2 separate regions of the Homo sapiens genome follow, and region 2 is linked to region 1. The links are contacts of gene promoters, found by promoter capture Hi-C in blood cells and fetal thymus (Javierre and others, 2016). All regions are on one chromosome and are shown on one strand. Each heading gives the region's core, a stretch centred on a gene start or on the middle of the fragment in contact. The rest is flanking DNA. Distances are from core to core; before and after follow the strand shown. Region 1 holds the start of SEC61A1 (SEC61 translocon subunit alpha 1). Region 2 has its middle 36 kb from the start of RPN1.

Region 1 (7,223 bases), core at 2,905-5,404:
TATTGAAATAATGTCAGCTCTAATAGCTAAAATATGTTTTCTTATAAAGCTAAAATAAATACTGCTGGGCACGGTGGCTCACGCCTATAATCCCAGCACTTTGGGAGGCAGAAGTGGGCAGATCACTTGAGGTCAGAAGTTTGAGACCAGCCTGGCCAACATGGCAAAACTCCATCTCTACTAAAAATACAAAAATTAGCCAGGTGTGGTGGCGCACGCCTGTAATTCCAGCTACTTGGAAGGCTGAGGCAGGAGAATCACTTAAACTCAGGAGATGGAGGTTGCAGTGAGCTGAGATCGCGCCACTGCACTCCAGCCTGGGCAACAGAGCGAGACTTCATCTCAAAACAAAACAAAAAAACTCTAAATACTGACATCTCCATTAAAATATCATTTATTAAGGCCCAAACTCTTTAAAATATATTTTTCAAACAGCCACTGCATTTGTTTCCATTACAGTGAACATACAGAACTTACTGACTTCCACCACAGCGGGTATATAGCTCAGGGGTAGAGCATTTGAATGCAGAACTTACCGACTTCCACATTGCTTTTGCAGATCTAGCACTGCAGGCTTGTCCATCAAGGTTCAATTTGCATTACTTAATGTAGTTATTTCTGCTACTTGGTGTGTGGTAGTAAATATAGTTTATCAAGAAAAGCATGAGTTCCCTGACTTGTATTGGTTTATCCAAAATTAAATTTGATAATTTAGTGCCAAATTAAAACATCCACATTTTTCCTAAACTTTTGGCTGAAACTCCATACTCTCTCTAGAATTACATTAGCATTTTTTGTATAAAATCCAATGACAATTTTCTTATTTGGTACAATATTCCAATTACATCTTTATGGAACTATATCTCAAATGTAATTCTTTCTTGTGTACTCATAATAAAGACAATACAGTGTACTAAATGTTTCCCAGTGTCATAAGATCAACAAAAACCATTATATTCAAAAACCTTTAAATTTGCATTTTAATTATTAAAACACATTCACATAAAAAAATGAAGCTTCTTAGATGATGATTTTAAATACACCTCTTTGATTTACATATTTTTCAAAAAGCTGTTTTCTCATTTGGGTACATCTGGTTTTTAACAGGTGGGTCCAGAATACAATGGCGTGTTCATATCAATATTAATCCTTTTGAAGTTCTAGTAAATGTGTGTGAAATGCTCAATTATACTTAACTATATAATAGTGCTAAAAATTCTGACAGTACCTTCTAAATCTTTTTTTTTTTTTTTTTTTTTTTTTGAGACAGAGTCTCGCTCTGTTGCCCAGGCTGGAGTGCAGTGATGAGATCTCGGTTTACTGCAACCTCCACCCCCCAGGGTTCTAGCCATTCTCATGTCTCAGCCTCCTGAGTAGTTGGGACTACAGGCACGCACCACCATGCTCAGCTAATTTTTTATTTTTAGTAGAGGCGAGATTTCACCATGTTGGCCAGGCTGGTCTCGAACTCCTGGCCTCAAGTGATCTGCCCACCTTGGCTTCCCAAAGTGCTGGGATTTCATGAGCCACCAAGCTTGGCCCTAAATCTTTTTGATTGCTTTATCCTCACTCTGATAACCTTTTTGGGAGTTCTAAGTTTTCAAATACTTAATTTATGAAACTGATTATATTCTTTTAAGTTCTTTTCTCATCGATAATCACAATTTTTCTTCACTTGCACAAGCTTTAAGAGCATTCTGATGAATATATGTTTAACACTTTGATCTTTTAACAATAGAACTTCTGAGCACTCAGTACCCAACATTTCTGTCACTAGCAATGTCAAATTTTTGGTTGAAAAAAATTATTTTTTCACTACAAAACTATAGATTTTATGTAATAAAGTTTATCTTATAAATTATAAATTTTATTTTGTGCTGATTCTTAAACAGTATCAAAAGAAGTTCCAGGCGGGGATTCATTATTATTACAAATTTCTTGTTTATTCTTCTGCAGATATCAAGATTTACATTTATCATACTTAAAAGTATTGAAAATTCATCCAGATTTTTGTGGTCTCTTTCATTCTAGGTGGATGTTTCTAATATCCTATAATAAAATCTTAAATGTATAAATATAAAACACTGCATACCTATTTTCCGAAGAATTAATGTATGTGCTTACAATAGAAATATTTTATTATTTTTTGAGACAGAGTCTCACTCTGTCGTCACCCAGGCTGAAGTGCAGTGGTGAGATCTCAGCTCACTGCAGCCTCGACCTCCCAGGCTCAAGGGATCCTCCCACCTCAGCCTTTCCAGTAGCTGGGACTACAGGCATGCGCCACCATGCCTAGCTAATTTTTTTCTGTATTTTTTTCTAGAGACAGGGTTTTGCCATGTTGCCCAGGCTGGTCTTGCACTCCTGGGCTCAAGTGATCCTCTTGCCTTGGCCTCCCGAAGTGCTGGGATTACTGGTGTGAGCCACTGCACCCAGTCCAATAAAAATATTTTAAACTAGTGATTCTCCTAAAGCAATCAGTGATTTAACACACGTAACTTGGCTGCAGTCCCTGCAGTGACACAGGCCAGATTGTGTCATAATGTGGAAACAACAGGAGGCCTGTTATCAATGGTACTGACATCCTACAACTATTAGCACAAACCAATGAGTTTATATTAAAATTTCTATTAACTAATTGTAATATTTATTGTAATTACTATACTATTTACCCTCGAAATATTTCAACATTTTAACCATCAATATGGTGCAGGGTGCATAATGGCTAAATATCGGATCTAGTCTATATGCTGAACTTAGTCCAGGGGCTGCCAGTTTTAGCTTCAGGCCAAAACTCCAGAAGAGATCATCAGTGGGTCCTGGAAGTGAAGATGGGTTGCATTTCAGACTCTGAATAAAGAGTCAATGTCTTCTTTTTCCCCTTTTTGGTGGGGGATGGATATCAAGTGATGTCACACCTAGACCACTTCACTGAAGTTACCTGCCTGTTCCCAGTAGTCCTTTGAATTTTCCACCAGTGGGTTTGTATTCCAAAAAAGACTTCCTGTCCTGTCCAACTTTCTGAGCCAAGAATGTACAAAACCTGATTATCTGCTAGAAATGGGTGAGAATGGAAAAATCCAAATAGTTGACACCTAAATTAAAAGCAAAAAAGCATCTTGCCACATATGTACCCTCAACTTCTACCTGTCCTGGTCAAGGTTTAGCTCCATGAAACCTTGCCTGATCCCACAAGGCGTGCCCACCTCCTCCCTGCTAAATGCTCACAGCATTAAGTCTGTTTCTCTTAGATGACATCATACCTACTGACTACAGATGCCTGAAAGTAAATTCCAACCCCCAGCCCCAGCATCCCTTGCCCTACCCGTTATCCCCCTTTCCCACACCGATCTTAGGCAATCACACCGCCATGCTTTGCCCACAACAGTCTCCTCAACCTGTTCCCTCATTCCTTCTCGCCAGAATCTATCAAGGCTCGGCACAAAGGTACTCTCCCAGGAGGCCTTCCTGAATTCTTCTGTGAGGCAGACTACTTCCCGAGCTGCCCCGGCCCTTCTCCGGCCAAGTCTCTCCAGAAACTCATCCCATTCGTTCTCAGATGGAAGGGGACCCACACCCACGACAAGCCTCCGGGTTTGCTTAATGACTCAGACAGCGAGGGTGCTCGGTAAGCCCCACCAGCCCGCGCCCTACTCAGCAGGTAATGACGGAGACCTACTAGGTGACGGGCGCCGCGGTAGACGCTGGGATAAGGTCCCTGCTCCAGGGAGCTTACGGTCTATTCACTAACGTCAAAGAGCAGTGAGTGCTGTTACGTGTATGGGAGCCACCAGGGTCTCCGCCTGCCTGCAGGGCCACGCGCGCACTCGACGCTTCGCGCCTGCCTCAGTTTCTCCGTGAGGCCGCACAGCCCCAGTCTCGGGAGGCGTGACACACCCTCCCCGCGCGCTCTCGCGTTACCAAGTCTGCGCAGCCGCACACCCCCAGTCCCGGCGGGCCCCGCGCGCCAGGCCCCTTCCCGACAGGCCCCAGGAGCCCCGCTGCATGCCGGGGCTTGAGGTCTCGGCGAAGCGGCGCGGCGCGGCGAAGCGCGGCGGCCGGCGGGCGCGCGTGGCAGGAAGCGGAAGCGATCCGAGGCCCGGCCCCGGCCCCGCCCCGCGCCGCGCCGCGCCGCTTGCCGCCGGGCTAGCACTGACGTGTCTCTCGGCGGAGCTGCTGTGCAGTGGAACGCGCTGGGCCGCGGGCAGCGTCGCCTCACGCGGAGCAGAGCTGAGCTGAAGCGGGACCCGGAGCCCGAGCAGCCGCCGCCATGGCAAGTGAGTCCTGTAGGGAAGCCCTATTGAGGCCGGGACGGAACAGATCCCCCTTCCCCACACCCGTGCGGTCGGGCGCCCGCCGGCCAACCCTGACCGGCCCCCTGCAGAACGCGGCCCGTGCCCCCGGCCCTTCTCGAGTATCCCCACGCGTCCGGGGTGCGGCCGGCTCCCCTGGCCCCTGCTCTCACTCGTCGTGGGCAGAAGGCGTCCCTGGGTAGCGCGGAAGGTTACTTCTCTGTGTCCCAACTCTTCCTGTTTTGTTTCTCCCATCAAAGTCAAATTTCTGGAAGTCATCAAGCCCTTCTGTGTCATCCTGCCGGAAATTCAGAAGCCAGAGAGGAAGGTAAGTACCCCAAATCGCCAACAAAGAAGGTTTCAGGAAACTGTCTGGACTCTGGAAGTTTACAGTATGATTAAAAATGGCTTCAGCACGGCAATGGAAACTCTCCCTTCTCTTCCCTTGGAGTGTAGTTGTGCTCTGTTATTCCGGAGAGCTGTCGAAAGGTGACCTGGTTGTGTGGAAATTTCCACTGAAATCACTGTGCTTTATTTGGAGCATCTTTGGTGGATGTTGCTCCGAGAACAAAGCCTCCGGTTGCCCTGTCCCAAAAATGGATCCGGGCCATGAATGAATAAGGCCTCAGTTAGGATAGCAGATTGAGTTACCCTCCCTTTTTCACCTCCAACGGGAGCAGATCACGGGTTGGTTTTTTTTCCCAGGAGATGCCCTTTGTATCCAGCTGCTAAAGGGAAGGGCTGTCACTTTAGTATTTACAAATGATTTTGTACCTTTTATGTAGGCTGTCACAATAGGGGGAATAAAGGCTATTCTTTTGTGAAGTCTGCTGCTTTTCACAGACGGTGTATTAAAACAAGGAAAGATTAAATTTAGAGCTGTGCTGAATCAGAAATTGTGTGGAGTGAGTGTTGCCAGTGTAACTACAGCTGTCAACGAAAAAAAGTTTCATTAGGTTCCTAGGTTAGAGAGTGGGGAATAAAATGTTTGTGTCCTCACATTATTTTTCAAACTGTTGTTAAAGCATTCACATGGACACTTGGGTGCTTGGAATCCACTTTCATTTTTTTACGTAAAATAGTTTCATATAAATGCCCATGTGCTGCTTTTAATGGACGAATTTGTAAAGCTTTACCCCCTCAATTCCAGTGTAGCGAAGGGGCATGGCTCTGGAGGCAGGCAAGCCTAGGTCCCACCCTTTACATAGCACCTTAATAGCTATGTGACCTTGGCCTTGTAACTCAGTGTGGTAGACGGAACAAGGGAAATACGTGCAAGGTATAGCAGTGGCTCAGGAAGGGATTAACTCTGGGAGACATGATGTCTTATGGTGGTTTTGAAGGAGAAATAGAAGTCTCCTTGAAGGGACGGAAAGGAATTCCAAATAAAAGGAGTATATAGTTTGCAAAGGCATTGGTGACAAGAGTGTAGCATGTTTGGATGGGAGGTTATTAGATGTAGTTGCTATTGATAGAACATAATTGTAGGTGGGGAACATTAGGAGATGAATAACAAGGGCCAGACATGAGAATGTCACTTTGGAAGAAAAGGAGAGGACTAGAGTTGGTTTAGAGGCTTTTCACATCAGAGGATGAACTGTGGTACTGAGCAAGAATGGATTTAGGGGCTACTAAGAAGCAGAGGAGACAGGACTTGGATAAAGAGCTTTTGGGGTTTTGATGTTAAATTTGATTGTAACCAGGAGAGAGGACTTGGTGATTAGAAAGGGAGTTTTGAAAAAATTGTCTGCTCTTTGTTTCCCATCAAGATTCATTTCAGACAGGTTACTCTGAAATGGCGTTGCCTTCTCTTGGCCACTTTCTAATTTCTTAGTGTGGTGGGATGGTAGGTGGGAAGAGGACCATTCTCAAGAGAAGAAGAGTCCTGTGAATGCCCCCAGCTTTGGATGGAGTATCTGAACACTGATTCACCCACTGTTGTGTGGCCGTATGACTGTGTCCTACTTTGCCTGCATGTATAGTTAGAGGACTGTGACTCCAGTTCTGGCCAGAGGGCCAGGAATGCTGACTCAGTGCCTGCCTAGAAGTGTTTTTAAAGAACACAGTTTTGTCACTTAATACTGTCAGTCTCTCACAAGGTATTTCAACCTCAGAATCTTCCGTCTGTACAATAATTAATGTTTGTTAAGCCCTCTAAAGCCATTAATGTAGTGTAGGCAGCAGGTATTAGTGAAGACACTCAGTTTCAGAGGCAGAAAACCTGGAAGAGTTCCCACTCTACTCTTTAGTGACAGAGGTTTTGGGTGGGAGGTTTTCTAATGATACTTAATACTTAATAGTCATCTTTACAGTGATTCTTGTCACCTATGCAACCTATGTACCTGAGAAGATGTGAAAATCCTTAAACAAATGTTACTAGTAGGTTAAACATGCAACTCTCCTGCCCTTCCCCAATATGGTTTATTACACTGTTTTACCCTTAATTCATAGAAAATACACTATTGAGCAATTCCAAATTACTTGACTCTAGAATAACAAGGTTTTGTGACTGAAACTCAAATGAAAAGTGGTTGCTCGTGTGTTTTACAAGTCATGTTCTATTGTGACATTCTTTGTTCTTGAGTCTTAACTGTTAATGCTAATGGTTAAAAGCACAGTTTGGGACTCAAACTCACTTTAGCATTGGGGTTTGGTACAAATTATTTAGCTCTTCTAAGGCTCAGTTGTAAAATAAAGGTAATGCTCTGTGGTGTGAGGTGAGCTGGGGTGATGCCTGTAGGTCCTTGCATTGTGCTCTGTGCAGAGGAAGTTACGCAGTACATGGTACTTATGTTTGGTACATGGTTTGGCTTCTCTGCTGAACAGAGAAAAGAGTCTGGTTGGAGTCCATTTTTAGAGAAAGGGGTCTGATTGGAGTCCATTTTTATTAATTTGCTTTTCAAAGTAACTCCCTGCTTCAATTCATTCTCT
Region 2 (6,792 bases), core at 4,061-6,560, 560 kb after region 1:
GACTTGCCTCAAAGTTACCCAGCTGGCACAAGCAGGGTTCAGGTCCAGCTAGGCCTGATCCCACCTTCTGCCCTCTTCTGACAGCCCCAGGCTGCCTCCCACCACACACAACACACACACACATGCATGCACACACACATGCACTTGCACAGCCACATGACATGTGCAAGGACACACACATATACATATACACAGACACACACATGCATACACAGAGACACACAGACACACACACACATGGGTCACAGCCCAAAATAACACCTTCCTGGAGCTAACGCCTCTCCTTCCCCCTCACCCCGAGTGTGTATGGATTCCTCCAGCCCAAGCCTCCCTCCCCAAATCACCCCTCTCTAGCCCTGTCAGATTCAGAAGGATCTCCTCCTCAGGTCAGCCTCCATCTCTGACAAATCCCCCCACCCCATCCTCTGGTCCTGCTCCCCCAGGGCTCCCAGCACCTGGCCCAGTGGACCAGCTGCAGGCCACACCTCTCTACTGGTGGAGAGGGAAACCCTGGGCTCTCGGGTAGAGCTGCGGGTGCTGGTGGTGGGTGGCCATGCCTTCGTCCATGTCCATCCAACATGCACTCCCTGTGTGCCTGGACCCCACTCCCTCTCCTCCAGGCCTTTGTGCCATGCACAAGCTCCAGGCCTGGGGCCCCATCCTGATGGAGAGAAGTGGTCAGGAAAGTGGGCAGGCCTCAGGGCTTCAAGCCAGGCCCCAAGAGGCAGAGGGGAGAGTGACAGGACCTGGAGCTGAGACTTAGGAACGTGACAGGTGGCCAGTGTGGTGGCTCATGCCTGTAATTCCAGCACTTTGAGAGGCTGAGGTGGGTGGATCGCTTAAGCCCAGGAGTTCAAGACCAGCCTGGACGATATAGCAAGACCCCATTTCTACTATTTAAAAAATATGTATATAATTTTTTTTCTTTTTTTTTCCAGAGTCTCGCTCTGTCGCCCAGGCTGGAGTGCAGTGGTGCAATCTCAGCTCGCTGCAACCTCCACCTCCTGCGTTCAATCGATTCTCCTGCCTCAGCCTCCCAAGTAGCTGGGACTATAGGCGCATGCCACCACGCCCACTAATTTTTGTATTTTTAGTAGAGACAGGGTTTCACCATGTTAGCCAGGATGGTTTCGATCTCCTGACCTCGTGATCCGCCCGCCTGGTCCTCTCAAAGTGCTGGGATTACAGGCGTGAGCCACCACACCTAGCCTATATTTAAATTTTTTTAAAGAAAACAGACAGGTGCTCTCCAGAGCAGCAGCGCGTGGTAGCACAGAGCGGCAGGGTGCACTCACCGTGTGAGCACACCACGCAGAGTGTTTCTGCACGCACGTGTGCCCCAGAGCAGCCTGTGTGCCTCTGCATGCCTCTGGGAGTCTGTGCACTTGTGCATGAAGGGGAGAGTCTGTGAGAAAGGATGGGTAGTGCAGAAGGCGAGAACACAGGCTCTGAGACCGGCACGCCAGGCTCACATGCTGTGCAAGTTCCCTCACTGGTGACAGTGGCAGCCAGAGCCGCACCTGGCAGAGCGTGAACGGGCTCCTTATCATTTCCACTCTGCAGGCATCTCTGTGGGCTGCACAAGGTCCCTGTGGCGGGGACTCTGCCCACTCCCGACTGTATCCCCAGGGCCAGGGACATGGCGAGTGCACGTATCTGGCATGTGTGAATCTGCCTAGCGCCGTGTGTGCACCTGCGTGTGTTCACTCGTGTGTGCATGTCTGTGAGCCTCGGTGACAGTCACAGGTGTGAGAGTGGCATGCGCACATCTGAGCATTGGAAGAGCTGCATGTGTGTGCCCATGTGCCTTCTGCGCACCCCCCAGGAGGGTAAACATGAGACGGAGACAGACAGAAGGCCCCACCCTGCTAGCACAGGTCACAGGGGTCAGGAAGGATCCACATTGCATCACAGCACCCCCAGCGTTCACTGACAAGGCAACCATGAGACCCGCCGTAGGGACCTCATACCTGCCTCATCCCAGCACTGTGGAGGAACAGGAATTTGGAAAAATAAAATAAAAACAAAAATCTGTGCTTCCTCCCTCCCTCCACTGAGGCTGCTTCTGGGACTCTGCCTGCACTAACTGGCCCCAGAATCCCAGCTCATCAATGCTAGAAGGCCCTTGGACATCTGTCATTGTGCAGTAAGACTTGAGGCCCAGAGAGGTCAGGGACTTGCCCAAGTTCACACAGGTGCCGGCTGCAGAGAGGGACCTGTCCCAGGTCTGTCTGTCTCAGCGAGGGCTGGCTTCTCCCTCCACACCTAGGGCTCCAACCCAATAGGTGGTTCAGACTGCTGAGACCTCGATCTGCAGTCTGAACCAATGAATAAATGGACATTTATAAAGAAAGCACTTTGTAAACAGCTACTCTTAGTTCAAATCAAAGCATTATACTTGTCACCCTGGTATCTGTCAAAGGAAGAGACTCCTGCTCCTTGAGCCGGTGCTGCGCCAGGGGCTTTCCCAGGCAGCATACCTCTGAGCTCCTTCCAGTCCTGATATCGTTATGGTCCTCATTCTCCAGGTGAGCAATGTGAGGCTCAGAGAAGAGAAACAGAAAGCCCGGAGGCTTGAGTGGGTCAGACACCCATCAGGAGCTTGGCATGAGTATGACAGCTCCTTGACGCAAAGTCTAGGGGGCATGAGTGCTGGGGCCATTGCAGGCACCAGGACCCAAGCCTAGGGGAGAGGAAGCTGGAAGCTGAGAAGCTGGAGCGCTCTAGAGGGCAGGTATGCATGAGACCTGACTTGCAGGCAGGAGGTCCTGCAGCCACCAGAGGCCTGGATGGGGTGAGGAAGAGGCCAAGAGAAAAGAGGCTGAAGGATTTATGGCCACCCAGCCCACACCCTGCTACACCACCCTGCCCAGCTCTCAGCTGTCCTGGGTCTCAGCTCAGGAGTCTCCTCTAAGGGATGCCCTCCTGACCCTCCAGACTACATCCATTTATCATATCACCCATTTTATTTCCTTCATAGCATTTATCACTATCATATTGCTGGTGCCCAAAACAGTGCCCACTACAAAGTGGATTTTTCTTTGGTGTGTGTTTGTATAGTTTGTTTGTTTGTTTTTAGCCATTCAGATTGCATTTATTTGTAACAATACGCATGCAGCCCTCCCTCTGGTCTTCCAGTCCCTGTCCCTCCCAGGGCAGCGCCCTTTCCTGAACACTCCTGTCTACCCTCGGAGTTGCTGACTTTTAGAAATCATAATGAGGCCGGATGCAGTGGCTCATGCCTGTAATCCCAGCACTTTGGGAGGCCGAGGTGGGTGGATCACCTGAGGTCAGGAGTTCAAGACCAGGCTGGCCAACATGGTGAAACCCCGTCTCTACTAAAAATACAAAAATTAGTCAGGCATGATGGTGGGTGCCTGTAATCCCAGCTACTTGGGAGGCTGAGGTGGGAGAATCCCTTGAACCTGGGAGACGGTGGTTGCAGTGAGCCCAGATCACGCCACTGCACCCGGGCAAGATCAGCCTGGGTGGCTGAGCAAGACTCTGTCTCAAAAAGAAAAAAAGAAAGAAAAAAAAAGAAATAACAATGAGCACCCATTTTTCTGTTACTAGCTTTCCTACTCACCTTTGAAAAAGGCAAAAACCTCAACAATGCATAAACCACACATAAGAAGGCAAATTCACAAGGAAAAATGACCAACCTCATCCATTATTTAAAAATGGCAAATAGGCCAGGCATGGTGCTTCATGCCTATAATCTCAGCACTTCAGGAGGCCAAGGCAGGTGGATCACTTGAGCCCAGGAGTTTGAGACCAGCCTGAGCAACACAGCAAAACCCCGTCTCTACAAAAAATACAAAAATTGTTTTTGTTTTCAAGACAGGGTTTCTCTCTGTCACCCAGGCTGGAGTGCAGTGGTGTGATCATAGCTCACTGCAGCCTCAACCTCCTGGGTTCAAATGATCCTCCCAACTCAGCCTCCCAAAGTGTTGGGAGGACATTTATAAAGTCCACTGCACTCAGTTGAAGATATTTGTTGAATGAATGGATGTGCTGCCTCTGTTTAAACTCTGCTGAAATAGAGCACCCAGTGTAGGGAGGCAAACAGTCCATTCCACTTCAGAAAGCAGTGTCCAGTAGTGTAAGGTAGGGACATCTCAGCCCACCTGGAGAATAGGGAAGGCTGCCCAGGAGGCGAAGCTTGAACAGGTCTTTGCTGATCTCCTCAGTGCTAATGAAGGCACAGTCTCTCAGGGCTCTCCCATGAGATCACTGCCTTAAGCCCTCAATCCCACCCAATCCTGCTCTACTGGGATCTATTCACTGGCCCCTTCTCTCCTGGATCTTCAGCCTTTATGTCCCTGTTACCTCCTTCCTTCCCATCAGCATTTGAACAGGCTCCTGTCCTTCCCACTGCTACAGACTGAATGTCTGCATCCCCCCAGAATTCTTATGTTGAAACCTAACCCCCAATGTGAAGCATTAGAGGGTGGCACCTTTGTGAGGTGATTAGGCCATGAGGGTAGAGCCTTCATGAATGGACATTAGTGCCCTTATAAGATACATCCGAGAGTTCCCTCATCTCTGCCACCATGTGAGGACACGAGAAGGTGCTATCTTTGAACCAAGCAGCAGGACCTCTCAACACCAAATCTGCCGGTGCCTTGATCTTGGACTTCCCAGCCTCCAGAACTGTAAGAAGCAAATTTCTATTTATAGCTACCCAGTCTATGGTATTTTGTTATAGCAGCCTTAACAGACTGAGACACTCGTCTTAAATCTTTCTGGATTCTATCCCCTGAGTGGAAGTCAAAAAAGGAGTCTGGGCTCCTCCCTCCCCACCAACCCCCACAAGCAAATCCTTCAGATGCTGCGATGGACCCTCCTGATGGCCCTACCTTCTGACTTGCCTTTCCTGATGCCCAGCACTTCTGCTGTCTGCTCCCTTCTGTGTCCCCTGCATTTAGTCCTGGGCCTGTCACACCACATATGGAACTAAGGGCCTGATGGAAGCTGAGACCCTAAAGGGCTGGGCTGGGGGCACCATGAAGGGGTTGGCCATGGTAGGGGACAGGCTGCATCATTCAGCTTTCGCTTCAGGTCTAGCCCAGTTTGAAGGTTCTCTCTTCCCTCCCTGTCATCTCCCACACCTGCCCAGGCAGGTGACAAAGCAGTCCCCAGATCCCAGGCCACCAGCCCCAGAACCAGGCCAGAGTCCCAGAGTCAGGCCCAGCTTCAAAATGGCGCCAGGCCTCATCCAAAGCATCAGGCCTTTGCAGAGGGCCCTGGGGTACACTCGGGGGCATTTCCTGTCTGAGCCTGCGGCCCCCAACCGCTGGCAGCATGGGCTTCCGGCGGGGCTGCGGCCGGGGCCTGCACTATCAGCTCGGCACCAGACGCCCGGTCAGGATACTTGTGGTGAAACTGTGAGGGCGCACTGGGTCCTTTGGGGTTTTCTCCCATGACAGCCTCCAAGACAAATGGAAGAGAGAAAGTGACACCCAGCCCTTCTTCAGCCGTGTTTTCCCCTCCCTGAGCCAGGGTCCAGGTTCAAGGCTGGGGGACTGCCATGAGGCCACCTATGACTACAGGGACATCCCAAAGCTGCAGCCATGGAAGCAGCCAGGGCCAGGCCACTAGGGTCAGGCATCTTGGCCAAGGCTGGACAAAAGGCACTGTGGCCTGGGGATCTGAATGGGAGTGGGAGTGGGTGGGCCACTCCTATACGGCCACATGAGGGCCACAGAGAAAGTACGCTGGGTCTGAGACTGAGAGGTGTCAGGTGTCTGGGGCATGTCACCTTGCGCCAAGGGATGCCCAGCCTGAACCTGGCTTTACACCTAGGGCCCCACTTCACCTCCTCCCTGAGATTTACAAGGGGGAAACTGAGGCCCTGTTTACTACTGGGGAAACCGAGGATCAGGGAAGCGCAGGGCTGCGCGTGGCGTAGGGCGCTCTGTCCCAGCAACCAAAGGATGTAAGCCCGTAGGTGGGGAGGGCAGCACCGGATGCCCCACTGGGCCCAGGGATGCACCCACCACAGGATGCTGGGGGAGCCACCGGCCTTGGCCAGCCCAGCTAGCCCTGTGGCTTTCCAGGGCAGCTGAGAGCCCAGGTCCCCATGGCTAAGCCCCTCAGCAGCCCAGTGGTCCTGAGCCCGCCGACCCCAGACCCAGTCCTAGTCCGGCCAGAGGAGGCCGTTTACGAGCCCACACCCGTAGGTGGCGCCACAGCCGGAGAATTGGCTTTGGTTCTGTTGGAGCCGCGCCGCCTTTAAATTAGCCCCACGCATGCGCGACTTTTCTAGCCCGAGCCCGCCGTCTGCGCCTGCGATTTCGCCCATACTCCCCGGTGCCCGCCTCGTGACGTGCCGCAGTGTTACGAAGGGACACCAGGGCGCAGGCGCAGCTCGCTCCTCAGGCCTGCGAGAGGCCCGCCGGCCCAGCAGAGGGCGCCCACCAATCTGCACGCGGGCCCAGCGAGTTATCTTGATTTCGGCCAAGCTTTCTGACTGCTCCAAAAAACGAAGAAAAAGATTCAGGGAGAGTAAGAGGATGAAGAGAGCTGGTGAAGCAGCTGACCAAATGGCCCGAGGTGGTATGCAGCCGCGGTAAAGCAGGGCCCCTCCGTGAGGCACAGCCGCCCGGGGGTTCCCTAGGGGAAGCAGGGGCTGCGGCAGACGCCTCTCGGGCAGGTCAGGGTATGCACCCTCCCGCAGGGGCTCCCAAGGCCGGGCGTGCGTGAGGCCAGGTCCACGGGCACACCACTGTGAACACTGATTAAACGTGGCCTCCACGGCTTCCAACCCCCAGGACAGGACCAACCCTCTGC

The links. Contacts are between HindIII fragments. The CHiCAGO score rates a contact against its expected background, and 5 or more counts as called.
Region 2: a contact is called between a fragment that was not itself captured here and the fragment with the promoter of SEC61A1 in region 1, in 8 of 17 cell types (naive CD4 T cells, fetal thymus, non-activated CD4 T cells and 5 more). The highest score is 12.9, in naive CD4 T cells.

What each region holds. Positions count from the first base shown.
Region 1 is chr3:128,048,283-128,055,505 of GRCh38, forward strand. It overlaps SEC61A1 (SEC61 translocon subunit alpha 1), which reads left to right and starts at 4,155. Exons shown (of 12, transcript NM_013336.4): 1 at 4,155-4,277; 2 at 4,553-4,620. The coding sequence starts at 4,271. It overlaps LOC102723759 (a long non-coding RNA gene), which reads right to left and starts at 3,893. Exons shown (of 4, transcript XR_007096073.1): 1 at 3,680-3,893. RefSeq lists a cis regulatory region at 3,720-4,336 and a silencer at 3,829-4,468. The HindIII fragment of the contact is 3,738 bases long and covers 1,683-5,420 here.
Region 2 is chr3:128,611,445-128,618,236 of GRCh38, forward strand. No RefSeq gene overlaps it. Among named protein-coding and RNA genes, the nearest start is that of RPN1, 36 kb to the right of the region's middle. RefSeq lists enhancers at 6,376-6,665, 6,459-6,792, 6,686-6,735. The HindIII fragment of the contact is 2,303 bases long and covers 4,160-6,462 here.